Linked DNA regions of Homo sapiens: all the other regions are linked to region 3. The links are contacts of gene promoters, found by promoter capture Hi-C in blood cells and fetal thymus (Javierre and others, 2016). All regions are on one chromosome and are shown on one strand. The core of a region is centred on a gene start or on the middle of the fragment in contact, and the rest is flanking DNA. Distances in the headings are between cores, read along the strand shown. Region 1 holds the start of DCAF5 (DDB1 and CUL4 associated factor 5). Region 2 holds the start of EXD2 (exonuclease 3'-5' domain containing 2). Region 3 overlaps SLC39A9 (solute carrier family 39 member 9).

Region 1 (3,733 bases), core at 983-3,482, 310 kb after region 3:
GTCTATTTTTATGCTGAGGTAAATGGGACAATTTTCCCAGGAATTCAGTAAAAACTGTAAAGGGGGTATGTGCTTAAGAGGGCAGAGGAGGATGCGTATTATACACTGCCACAGTAAAGGCCACTTCGAACAAATCTCCCCCACCCCAGGCAAATAGGTATAAATGATGGCCTATTAACTGGAAGAAGTTAGAGGGGGTTTTGAATGTGTGGACTGAGTATGCCAAGCAAAGGAACAGTGAGCAGGGAAACTGGCCTTGGAACAAGTGGATTCCACTGGAATGAAACAGGTCAAACTCAACATATCCAAACCGGAAAGCACGACCTTTCCCTTCAAACTCCTCCCCACTCCCTAAGTACATTCATGAATTCAGCAAGTATTAAAGCGGCCACTAGTGCCAGCAAGTACTGGCTCCAGGCATACACCCTTGAGCAGAACAGACGTAGTCCCTGCTCTCAGAGAACTTACAGCAGAGTGGGGAGACTCATATCATCACAAAAATAAATGATTAATTACACATTTTGACATTGCAATGACAGAAGGATGTTTGGTGCTATACATCTTTAATAAAGCTGGTATACTGCTACTAATTTTTAGGTGGTGATTATAATGAATAAACACAAAGGATTATTAGAAGGCATCCTGAGGATAAAACCTTTTAAGTACCACATAGTTTCCTATTTAGGGGAACAATATTCCATTAAAATTCACATTTTTGGAATTTGATTTCTTTCTTTTAAAAATTTATTTATTTTTTGCCCTTTTCCCCAAGTTCTGATGGAATTTGGTTTCTGTTTAGTAATGTTTGCTAGAATATGTACTTTTATATGAAACATTTGCATATTTGTTATTAGTACGATTAATCGTATTGTCACTGAACAAAAAGTAGAAGTAAATAATTTTGTTTGACGGGTAAACCTCTTCCATGTTCAGCCGATCTTTTTTTTTAAAAAAAATTATTATTATTTTCCCCAGATCAGAGATGTACAGCCCATCTTTCAATGATGATTCTACTCAACTGCTCCTGTGCCATCTCTGGTCCAGAGGATGTAATTCCTGCTAACTTGAAAGGGCAAAACTGACAAGTGCCTATTTCAGTAGCTTATTACCACTTAATGACAGAGGATAGCTTCCAGGAAAAGTACTATAATACATCGAAAAGGGGACTTTTAACTGTATCTGGTAGAATTCCAAAGCATTTAACACCCACTAGGGTCAACGCGGTGACTCCCATCCTACTGAAGTGCAGCCACTTCTGGCCTGGAGCGCAGCTGCTGGTTAACAGCTGTCCAACCTCAGTGCTCCCCACTCGAGACCTTTAAGAGGAGCTCACCGAACCCAATTAAATAACATATATCGTTAGTTTCAAATCACGCTTCTTGTGTCGTGCAAATTTATCTGGAACGGAGAGAAGTACCTCGTGCTTCTCGGGACTTCATCAACTCGGTTTTGGCAATTTTCTTCCTACTTCTTTATCCCTTTCTCTTTCCCCCCATGTACCACTCTAATCTGCCAGACGGAACAATTTAGCCTTTTTCAACTAAAGGACCGGAGGAAGGAAGAGTTAGAGAACTGGACTTGGGGATGAGCGGTGGTGTTAAACATTTACCGGGAGAGGGGAAGGGGCGGGTGCGCGAACAAAACCCCCAGGCAACGTTCCTCCAAGTGTGCGGCCCTACCTCCCGGTTCCCCCGCCTCGGGCAGGGCCGGACTGCCCAAGGCAGAGGCCAGCAGAGGAAGGAGGGCCGGAGCCCCCGCCCGCACCTTCCCCCACTCCAGCCGCATTTTCCCCGAACTCGTACGGGCGCTGGCCTCCGGGCAGCAGCCGGCCCGCGGGTCCCCGCGGGAGGAAGGCGAGCCAAAGCCCGGCGGCCACTCGGATTGTTACGCGCATTCAACTCCGCGGAGTGCGGGGCGCTGGGGTGCAGAGGGGTCTCCGCCCGGCGCCACCCAGGTCCCCAGGCGGGAAGCGGCTCAACTGGGAAAGCAGCCGGCGCCCGTGGTCTCCGGGCCGGCCGCCCGCGTTCTTCCGGCCAGCCCCCCGCGGAGGGGAGGGGCGCCGACGCCGCGTTCTCGGGGCCCCGCAGCCGGCGGAAGGGCCGCGCATCGCGGAAGCGCGGCGGCAGCTGAGGATCAGCTGCTGGAGGAGGCGGAGAGGCAGAGGGAGGAGCCTCGGGGGGAAGGAGAGGGAGGGGACCGTCAGGAAGCCGCGAACGCCGCCGAGTGTCTGCACACCTCGCTCTGCCTGCCATGGCTGGTTAAAGAACCATCCGGATCGCAGCGCGGGGGGAGGGCCGGGTGGGGGGAGCAGCGGCCGCGCGTGAGGCCGAGGGAGGGGCGGCGGCGCGAGCGGCGGCGGCGGCGGTTCCAGCATGAAGAGGAGAGCTGGCCTGGGGGGCAGCATGAGGTCAGTGGTGGGCTTCTTGTCCCAGCGGGGCTTGCATGGGGACCCCCTGCTCACTCAGGACTTTCAGAGGAGACGCCTGCGGGGCTGCAGAAACCTCTACAAGAAGGACCTCCTCGGCCACTTCGGCTGTGTCAATGCCATTGAATTCTCCAACAATGGAGGCCAGTGGCTGGTCTCAGGTAAATCAACCCCCTTCCCCTCCCCGCGCCTCCCCGCACCCTCCCAGCCTCCCCCTCTCGCTCTCCCCCGTCACCCTCCTCCTGCCCTCTGTCCCCACCCCCTCCCTTTCTCTACCCCCTTCTGCGGTGGGAAGGTTTGGTGTCAAATTAAAACCATTGCAGGGGGAGGGGAAGGAGAGGATGTCTTCTATAAAAAAGACCTAAAATGGTTGACAGCTCCTTAATTCGCTTTATCCCAAGTGCAAAGTGATCTCTCCTGATGCCTGCCCTGAAAGTGTAGGTCGGGGAGGGGGGCGAGGTTACCGCTCTACAAAGTTTGACGGCAAACTCTTCCTCCGCGTACTTTAAAAGGTGCTGGGGGCATTTTGGGGATGTGGAGGGTGAGGAGGCCGAGGAGCGCCGGAGGCAAGGGGGAGCTGAAGCCCCCGTCGCCGGCGTTAAGGAAAAGGGGTCTTGGGGCTGGGAAGCGGGCGGTGACAGACCCGGACGCCGAGGGGCCGGGGGCTGCGACCCGGGGGCTGGCGGGGTCTGCAGAGGGGAAGTGACTGGGGCGGTAGGGTCGCTGTGGGCCGCCCCCCTCGGCGCTCTTAGAGGCCCAGCACCATCGCCTTTCGTTCGGTTGTGGCCTCTTCTGCGTCTTGTTTTTAATACAGTTTCGAGAGTGGCGAGGGCTGTGGAGGCTAAAGGGCACCAGCCTGAACTTGAATGCGCAACTTGCGAGGCAGGCGGTAGGGTGGGGGACCCCCGGGAGACTTGTTGGCGGGAGCCCGGCGCCCCGCACCCCGTTTCCCGCGGCCGCTGTTGCAAGTGGTCTCTGCTTCTCCTCCCTCTCGCCCAGACGGGCCTGGTTGCCCCCGGGCTCTCCCTCTGGTTTGGGGAAAGTGGCGAAATCGAGGCCGGGGCTCCGGCCGGGCGGTGTAGGCCTCGCTCTCCCGGGGCTCCTAGCGACAGGCAGCTGAATCGATAGCCTATTGCTCCCGGGGAGGCCCGGGCCCCGCGGGCCGCGGCGACAGCTGCCCCTGGGGAGGTGCGCCTGCTGCCGGTGGGGGCGCTCGCCGCCGTCGTCCCCTCCTCCCTGGGGTCGCGGGCCCAGGGCAGGGGCGGGTGGGAATGGGCCTACGTGAGGGCTAGGGGGCGGCTCCCCGAA
Region 2 (3,565 bases), core at 728-3,227, 270 kb after region 3:
TCAATAGTAATCAGGGGAATGCAAATTAAAACAGCAAAGAGAAATCACTTTTCCATCCATCAGATTGGCAAAAACAAAAAAGATCGATACCATTAAATGATCAAAAGAGCATGGTGGGCCAGACACGGTGGCTCACGCCTGTAATCCCATCACTTCGGGAGGCCAAGGCAGGCGGATCACTCGAGTTTAGGAGTTTGAGACCAGCCTGGCAAATACGGTGAAACCCCGTCTCTACTAAAAATACAAAAATTAGCCAGGCGTGGTAGCGGGTGCCTGTAATACCAGCTACTCGGGAGGCTGAGGCAGGAGAATCGCTTGAACCTGGGAGGCAGAGGCTGCAGTGAGCTGAGATCACGCCACTGCACTCCAACCTGGGCAACAGAGCAAGACTCTGTCTCAAAAAAAAAAAAAAAAGAGAGAGAGAATGGAGGAAATTATTATCCACCGTGGGTGGCAGTTTGGCATTCCTAAATCCCCATACTCTCCCACCCAGCAATTCCACCTGCAGGTACCCATCCTTGAGAAATGCTCTCACATGGGCTCTCACAGAGGTGTGTGGGAAGGATGTTCTCCGCCATACTGTGTCTAACAATGAAAAACTGGAAACAATCTATGGAATCTTACATAACCATGGAATTTACAGAGCAAGTAGAAAGAATAGGTAGATCTCTAGGTACTGACAAAGAAAAAATTCCAAGACCCGTTTTTAAGCATAAAACGTCAAGTTGTGTAATGCATAAAACATGCATATTTGTAAAAGTTTAAAGCGAAATCTTACAAACATATATCTTATACGTACACATACTTGTCAAATAAATGCAAAGAAAAATACACACAAACTGACAACAGTTCTTATTTTGTGGGAAAGGGACTGGTAAAGAAGGTGGAGATGGAAAAAAACAAAATCAAAGAGGATCTGTCTTCCACACTCCCCACCCTCACCACCAAGAACATCAAGCTAAGAAAGATCTGTGTTTAAAATTTTTACATAATTTTGTTACAAGGCTTTATGCACGGACTATAACTAGAATATTTTAAAAATACATTTTTAAAACAAGCTCAACTTGACCAAATTTAATCCATCTTCCCCGCTGCGCCCCAACCCGCACTTCCTAATTCCTATGATTAACAAAACCTTTCAATTCCTTCTATCCTTGGAACAGAACTAAGAAAATAAAGTATAATTTCAATTTTGTGTTTTTGAGGAGAGGGTATATAAAGGAGTTTGAATGTTGGAATCATATCAAAAGCTTATCGGGGGATTGGTTTGTTTGTATTTTAAGGAGCAGATGTCAATTTTGTAATAAATAATGATTAAGGTTCTTAGTTTTGATCCATCCCAGGGATGTGAAAAGCCAAAGAGGTGGCTCCCGGCAAGGCCCAGAGCAGGGTGTGGTCTGGGAGGACAGGGATGGTAGCGAGGGTGGCGGCTCACACGAATCCAGGAGAGAAAACAGCAGCTGTTGCCGCGTCGAACCCGCAGCGCCCGAGGAGCTACCAGGTGCCGCGGGCGGGGCCTCCTTTTTAGCTGACTGGGACACGCAGCCTCGAAGGTCTGGTAGAGTCTCCCAGGGAGAGGGTAAGGGGGTCGAAAGGAGAGGCCCAAGGAGGGCGTGGGAGGCCGCGGGCAGGGGTGAGGCCCTCCTTGCGCACCTGGGTGCTGAACCGCCCCGCCGTGTGCGACGGGGGCGAGGGGGTCACGCCGAGGGGCGGGGAGAGGGGCAGGGCCAACTCGCTCCGGGACAGCGGGGGCCCCGCAATGTCACCCCCGTACACGGTAATATCCCCCCGCTCCACGACCCCTCTTAGTCTGCACTGGAAGCACCCCCTGCCCCGCGCACAATCCTGGTGCAAGGCTTCGCCGGCTTCTGAGCCTCACTTACCTGCTGTCTCGGACTGGGCCGCACACCTGCAGCGGGCTCACGTTAAAGACCTGGAACCTGTGCGGCCGCCTGCGCGCACCCACCCGGATTCACTAGGGCCGTAACCACTTCCGTTCCTGCGACAGGCCTGGAGGACGTAATCCCAGCTGGCGTGTGGGAACGGGCAACGCCATTTTGTACGGAAGCTACTGGGGCAGGTGATGCCTACCCAGTCTCTCTCCTCTGTTGAACAAAGGATCTGTTAAAATTGGAAGGGCTTAACGTCTTCTTCAGAAAAGTGACGCATTTGTTACTGGGATGGTATGTTTGTGTTTTGGTTTTGGCTTTGAAGGGAGAAACCTCCAGAACTCTCACAAATGTAATATGGGACATCGAATTTTCCTTCTTTAGTATCCTGCGTACTGTTTTTCTGCTAAACGATAACAGTAAATAGAAGGAAAGACACTGTATTTAAATAATGTAGTCTTCATTAGCAGTGCACATTATCCTATAGCCACTATAATAATTTTATGTACCCTCCTTTTTTTTTTTTTTTTTTTTTTTTGTAGATACTGTCTCCCTACATTGCCTAGGCTGGTCTCGAACTCCTGGGCTCAAGCGAACCTCACAACTCGGCCTCCCAAAGTGCTGGGATTACAGGCGTGAATGCCCAACCTATGCCATCTTTTATAGCGATAACCACAATACTTTTTGTTTATATATTAAATCGTTCATCCAATCAGTCTTTATTAGCAATTATATGTGAGGCAGTTAATCTGTGCTACATGCATGCTTTTCCTTTCTCATGGAATGTGTAAAACAGAAGGAGAAATGAGATGTGCATAAATAACCAATATAAGGTATAATAATAGCTACCATTTGTTGACTTTGTGCTCACCTGTTGCTAGGAACTTTGCAAAGCATTTTACTTATTTTTTCTCCTTTAATCCCCATAACAACCCTGTGAGGCAGTACTATTATTAGTGCCGTTTTACATAAAATAGAAAAAGGTTAAATAACTTCCTCAAGGTAATTCAGCAAGTAAGCACCGGAGTTAGGAATCAAACCTCATATTTCTGATTGCAGAGCATGTGGCCCCATCCTTTATACTATATTGCCTTCAATACAGGGGCAAATGTTTTAAATTCCATTGAATGAGTACCCATGGGGGAAATTTCCAGCTATTATAGAGGATTAACTCCCTGAATTTTTATCTGCTCCATCTTGAAACACTTAAAAAACAAAGGATAAAGAGGAAATGCAAATTAAAACCACAATGAGATATAGCTAAATGAAAAAGAAAATGTCAAGTATTGGCAAGATTGTGGAGCAACCACAACTCTCATATGCTCCTGAAGGGAACATAAATTGATGCAATCACTTTGTTTAACTGTTTGGCGGTATCAACTGAATCTGAATATGTGAAAAGACTTTGTTCCAACAATTTCACCCCTAGCTGGGGCACAGTGGCTCAACGTGTCATCCCAGCACTTTAGGGATTTTCACTGTGTTGCCCAGGCTGGTCTTGAACTCCTGGCCTCAAGCGATCCTCCCACCTCGGCCTCCCAAAGTGCTGGGCATCATGGTGTGCACCTGTAGTCCCAGCTACTCCAGAAGCTTAGGCAGGAGGACGTCTTGATCCCTGGAGTTTGAGGCTGCAGTGAGTTGTGATCACACCACTGCAGTCCAGCATAGGTGACAGA
Region 3 (3,722 bases), core at 569-3,068:
CAGGAACATCCTTTGGGGGTTTGTGCTGCTGTCATACGGTTCCTGTGTTCAGTCCCTAGCTACCATGTGTTTCAGGGGCTTAATACACTCCGATGCTGGTGTGTCCTCTTAGTTCTAATCCTTGAAAAAGAGAAAAACCAGGCAGTGACACTTAGAAGTAGGCTGGTAAAAAAAAAACACAATCACATTTTCTCCTTTCTGCAAAGAAAGGACAACTCAAAACAGCCACTCCCTTTCTTTTCTCTAATGATTCAAAATACCAGAACAGGGCTCACTTGGCTGTTTTGAATTGGGAAAGAAAGAGGTGAAAGCGGGGAGAAAGAGAAAACACATAACCTCTAGGTAGGTAGTACTGTTTCCAACTGTCTACGTTCCAGTGCAGAATCTTTGCTAAAAAAAAATTTGGCAATAGTGTGCACAGGAAAACTGAATCAAACCTGGAACATCACTGCTTTCTTGAAATGGAACTGACAAGCAATTAACTGGAGAATAAGTGAGGGGAATGGAGCAGTAGTATTCTTTAACTTAATTTGCCATTTAAGAGAGCACTTGGAATCTGAAGAAAGTCTATCCCTACCAAGGAAACGGAGTCAAATTGCAATTAAGATTAACTTTGGTTATATGGAAGCAAGAATCATGCTTCTCATCATCAATTGCGTCTCTTTGGTAGCCAATAATTCCATCTGTAATCATGGCAGCAACTTAAGTATTGCCAATGTTTTCAAATGTGTTACAGCATTAAGGCATCCACATCTAAAGAGGCAGTTTTAAACAAGAGGAAAACGGAACTGAAATGTGCCAAGAAGTGAACACGGACATGGCCTCTCCTGGAATACTGCCCACCATGCCAGCAAGCTCTTCCTCCAGTCAAGAAGGCCTGTGCCACGCTGCTTGGTTCCCTGCTGCCTGAAGATGCATTTGAGCCCTATGAGATTAGTATGGCTATTTCTGTCTGCTGACCAGGAGAGAAATGAGTAGTTCTCGAGGCAGCAGCTTTAAAATCTGGGAAAGCCCATACATAGCTTCTGAGAGCTAAGAGGGCCCTGAAAGGTTTGCTTGTTAATAGTGAGGTCCAGAGGGGAAGGCAAATTTGGAAGTCAGATGGTTCAATCCTTGCCGGAGTTCAAGGCTCCATCCAGCAAGATATACTAGCCAAACTTTTAAGCATGATGGCAAGGCACTGCTGAAAGAGGCTTTGGCCAGTAGAACAAATTACCATTGCACACAACAATATGATAGAAAGCACTACTGTCCAAACCAAACCAGACACTACAATCTGCTATTTATTTGACAAAGTCAGTTTCCAGAGAGAATCTAGGCAACCATATAGTTTTGAAGGACTAGATGAAACCTCAAGTCTCACACCAGTCAGCTGTTAACATCCAATCAAGGAAGTCATTTGGACTTTCCATACTATACCTTCTCTTGGTAGTAAAATTGTATGCAATTGTTGCCAATGACTACATACAACTGTATCCTATTTGTGCTACTTTCCTCACTGTGGCCAGCAGAGGGCTCACAAGCTTTATTTCCACAGCTGCTGATCCAGTGACAAATTCATGAAGGAAATAAATCATAGGCATGCTAGCTTATGCGTCATAGAAAACGTTTTTACAAACTACTACGTCCACTGCCCTGAAGAAACTAGTCTTGGTTCCCCCTTAGTGTAATGTGTTTTGAAATGGTATAGAAAGTAAAAATAAATTAATAATACAATATTATACACTTATTTGACAAGACAGGGTTTACAAAAATTTTGGCAAATATGAAAAAAAAATTATCCTAGTCTGTTAAACACTTTTGCTATCTCAATTGTTTAAATTACCAGATTAGTGATTGTGTCAATTTACACATGAGGAGGTGGTATTTTAAGGGCTCAACAAAGCGGCATTTGACACAAAGGTAATTTCTTTGAAGGGGGATAAAGAATAAAGATATTATTATCTTCATTATTACAGTTCGAGAAGTGGTTGTCCTGATAAGAATTCATCCCACACAAATATTAACACCAGCAGTAAGCAGCAAATTGTGGCGAGGAGAGGCTAGAGGGAAAAGTTAGAAGAAAAGCAAAGAAAAGACGAAGAGACAAGAGACATGATTCCAATAAGCTTTAAATCAATAGGCAAACACTTCTCATTTATGATCCATCTTGCTACAGGTGGTTATGTGAGAAGACACAGTGTCGCCAAAGCTGACCTAGTATTTAGGTCCCTAGAGGGATTGCTGATCTGCTAAGAGAAATAATTAAAAAAAAAAAAAACAAAAAAAAAGGACAACCATACATTTTGGTAGTCTTTTAAAAAAAGCTACTACAAAGATATCAATAACCATCCAAAAATCACTTAAAATTTAATATCCCTTAATTTCCAAAGACACTTTGTGATCTGACTGTTCTTGAAGGAAAGCCTAGAACTGAAACTACTAGAACTTGGCTCCTCTCTAGGAATGTGGAGACAGGTATTCTGCAAAGGAGAACTTGACAAGGAATGCTACAAAATACCAGTCACCTCTTTAGAAGCTCCTCCCACCTCTCCTGCTCCATTTGATGGAATGGCAGGCTGGATTCAGAGAGGCACGTGCCAAAGGAGCTGTTTAAATCCCTCTAGACATCCCTTTTCAATGGATATCTCTTTTGAGTATAAAGAGAGCTTTCAATGTGTCTTGCTATCATTTTCCTGACCCTAATCCCAGATTAACTAGAATCACCTTTAGCATCTAAGTGAGTGGGTGCTATGACCTTCCATCAACGCATGTGGCATAGATGCTAAAGCACCAGTCTTACATGGTGGGAACCATGTTAAAAATCAATGGATAAAGTAGCAGAGCCTCTAAACTAAGAAGAAAGAGACATAGCTTAATTACAGAACACTGTATTTTCATAATCACTATTTCATTGTGAGTATGAAGTTCTCCTCTTTTCCTTAAAACTAAATTCCATCTTCCCTGAGAATAGGGTTAAGAGAAATATTAAAACGCAAAATGTCAAGGGCCTTTTAAAAGATAACACAATGGGATGTCTATAGCTAACTGCAACGTAAATGTGTTTCTACTCTAAAAGCTTTTCCATTACTCAGGTTTTAACCTCACCTCCCCTCTGGACTCTAGGAATACATGTAGAGATGCGCAAGGTGAGACAAGAGACTGAGGAAGTGAGTAGCTGTCACGTGCCGGCTGTTCTCACTGGATGGCAAACGGCCCTGGACCAAGGCTGGACCTTGAACATTTAATGCTGGTGTCCTACTGACAGGATGAGAGGGATGAGGCAACCCAGAACCAGGGCTGCCACTTCCAGGCGGCTGAGGCCTCTCCCTCCCGTGGCATCGGGCTTGTGGCTGTGCCCTATTCCGCCCACCTCAGGGAGGACATGTACTGTGGCAACATAAAGAAATGTCCCGGCAGAGAAAAGCATGGCCACTCCCGTGGCGTTCACCTCTGAAAGGGCTTCTTTACTGCTCTGTGAATTAGAAGAGAGAAAGAGGAAAAACTAAGTCAAGTAAAATTCAGGGTCAGGAAGAAGTCCCAGTTAAAAAACACTCACTGTTCTTAACTGGTGCTGTCTAGGACACTGGGGACATCTAGAGAACACAGCAACTTTAAGTTATTCATGGGAAGCTTCCAAATAAGGGTTTAAGAATATCAGTGATGTACGCAATTGATTTTTTAAAAAATTTATTGTAAATCAACAATTTATAATTATATATATTTATAGGGTATAAAGTGAC

The links. Contacts are between HindIII fragments. The CHiCAGO score rates a contact against its expected background, and 5 or more counts as called.
Region 1: a contact is called between the fragment with the promoter of DCAF5 here and a fragment that was not itself captured in region 3, in 1 of 17 cell types (megakaryocytes). The highest score is 6.8, in megakaryocytes.
Region 2: a contact is called between the fragment with the promoter of EXD2 here and a fragment that was not itself captured in region 3, in 4 of 17 cell types (endothelial precursors, megakaryocytes, erythroblasts and 1 more). The highest score is 6.6, in endothelial precursors.

Annotation. Positions count from the first base shown.
Region 1 is chr14:69,151,618-69,155,350 of GRCh38, reverse strand. It overlaps DCAF5 (DDB1 and CUL4 associated factor 5), which reads left to right and starts at 2,232. Exons shown (of 9, transcript NM_003861.3): 1 at 2,232-2,586. The coding sequence starts at 2,373. RefSeq lists silencers at 1,788-2,427, 3,248-3,297, 3,458-3,733. The HindIII fragment of the contact is 17,790 bases long and covers 1-3,733 here.
Region 2 is chr14:69,189,910-69,193,474 of GRCh38, reverse strand. EXD2 (exonuclease 3'-5' domain containing 2) reads right to left here and starts at 1,977. Exons shown (of 10, transcript NM_001193360.2): 1 at 1,884-1,977. All of the region lies in intron 3 of GALNT16-AS1 (GALNT16 and EXD2 antisense RNA 1), which reads left to right. RefSeq lists a silencer at 1,567-1,756. The HindIII fragment of the contact is 2,229 bases long and covers 1,253-3,481 here.
Region 3 is chr14:69,458,095-69,461,816 of GRCh38, reverse strand. It overlaps SLC39A9 (solute carrier family 39 member 9), which reads right to left. Exons shown (of 7, transcript NM_018375.5): 7 at 1-3,454. The coding sequence ends at 3,224. Among named protein-coding and RNA genes, the nearest start is that of PLEKHD1, 25 kb to the left of the region's middle. RefSeq lists a silencer at 1,480-1,529. The HindIII fragment of the contact is 585 bases long and covers 1,526-2,110 here.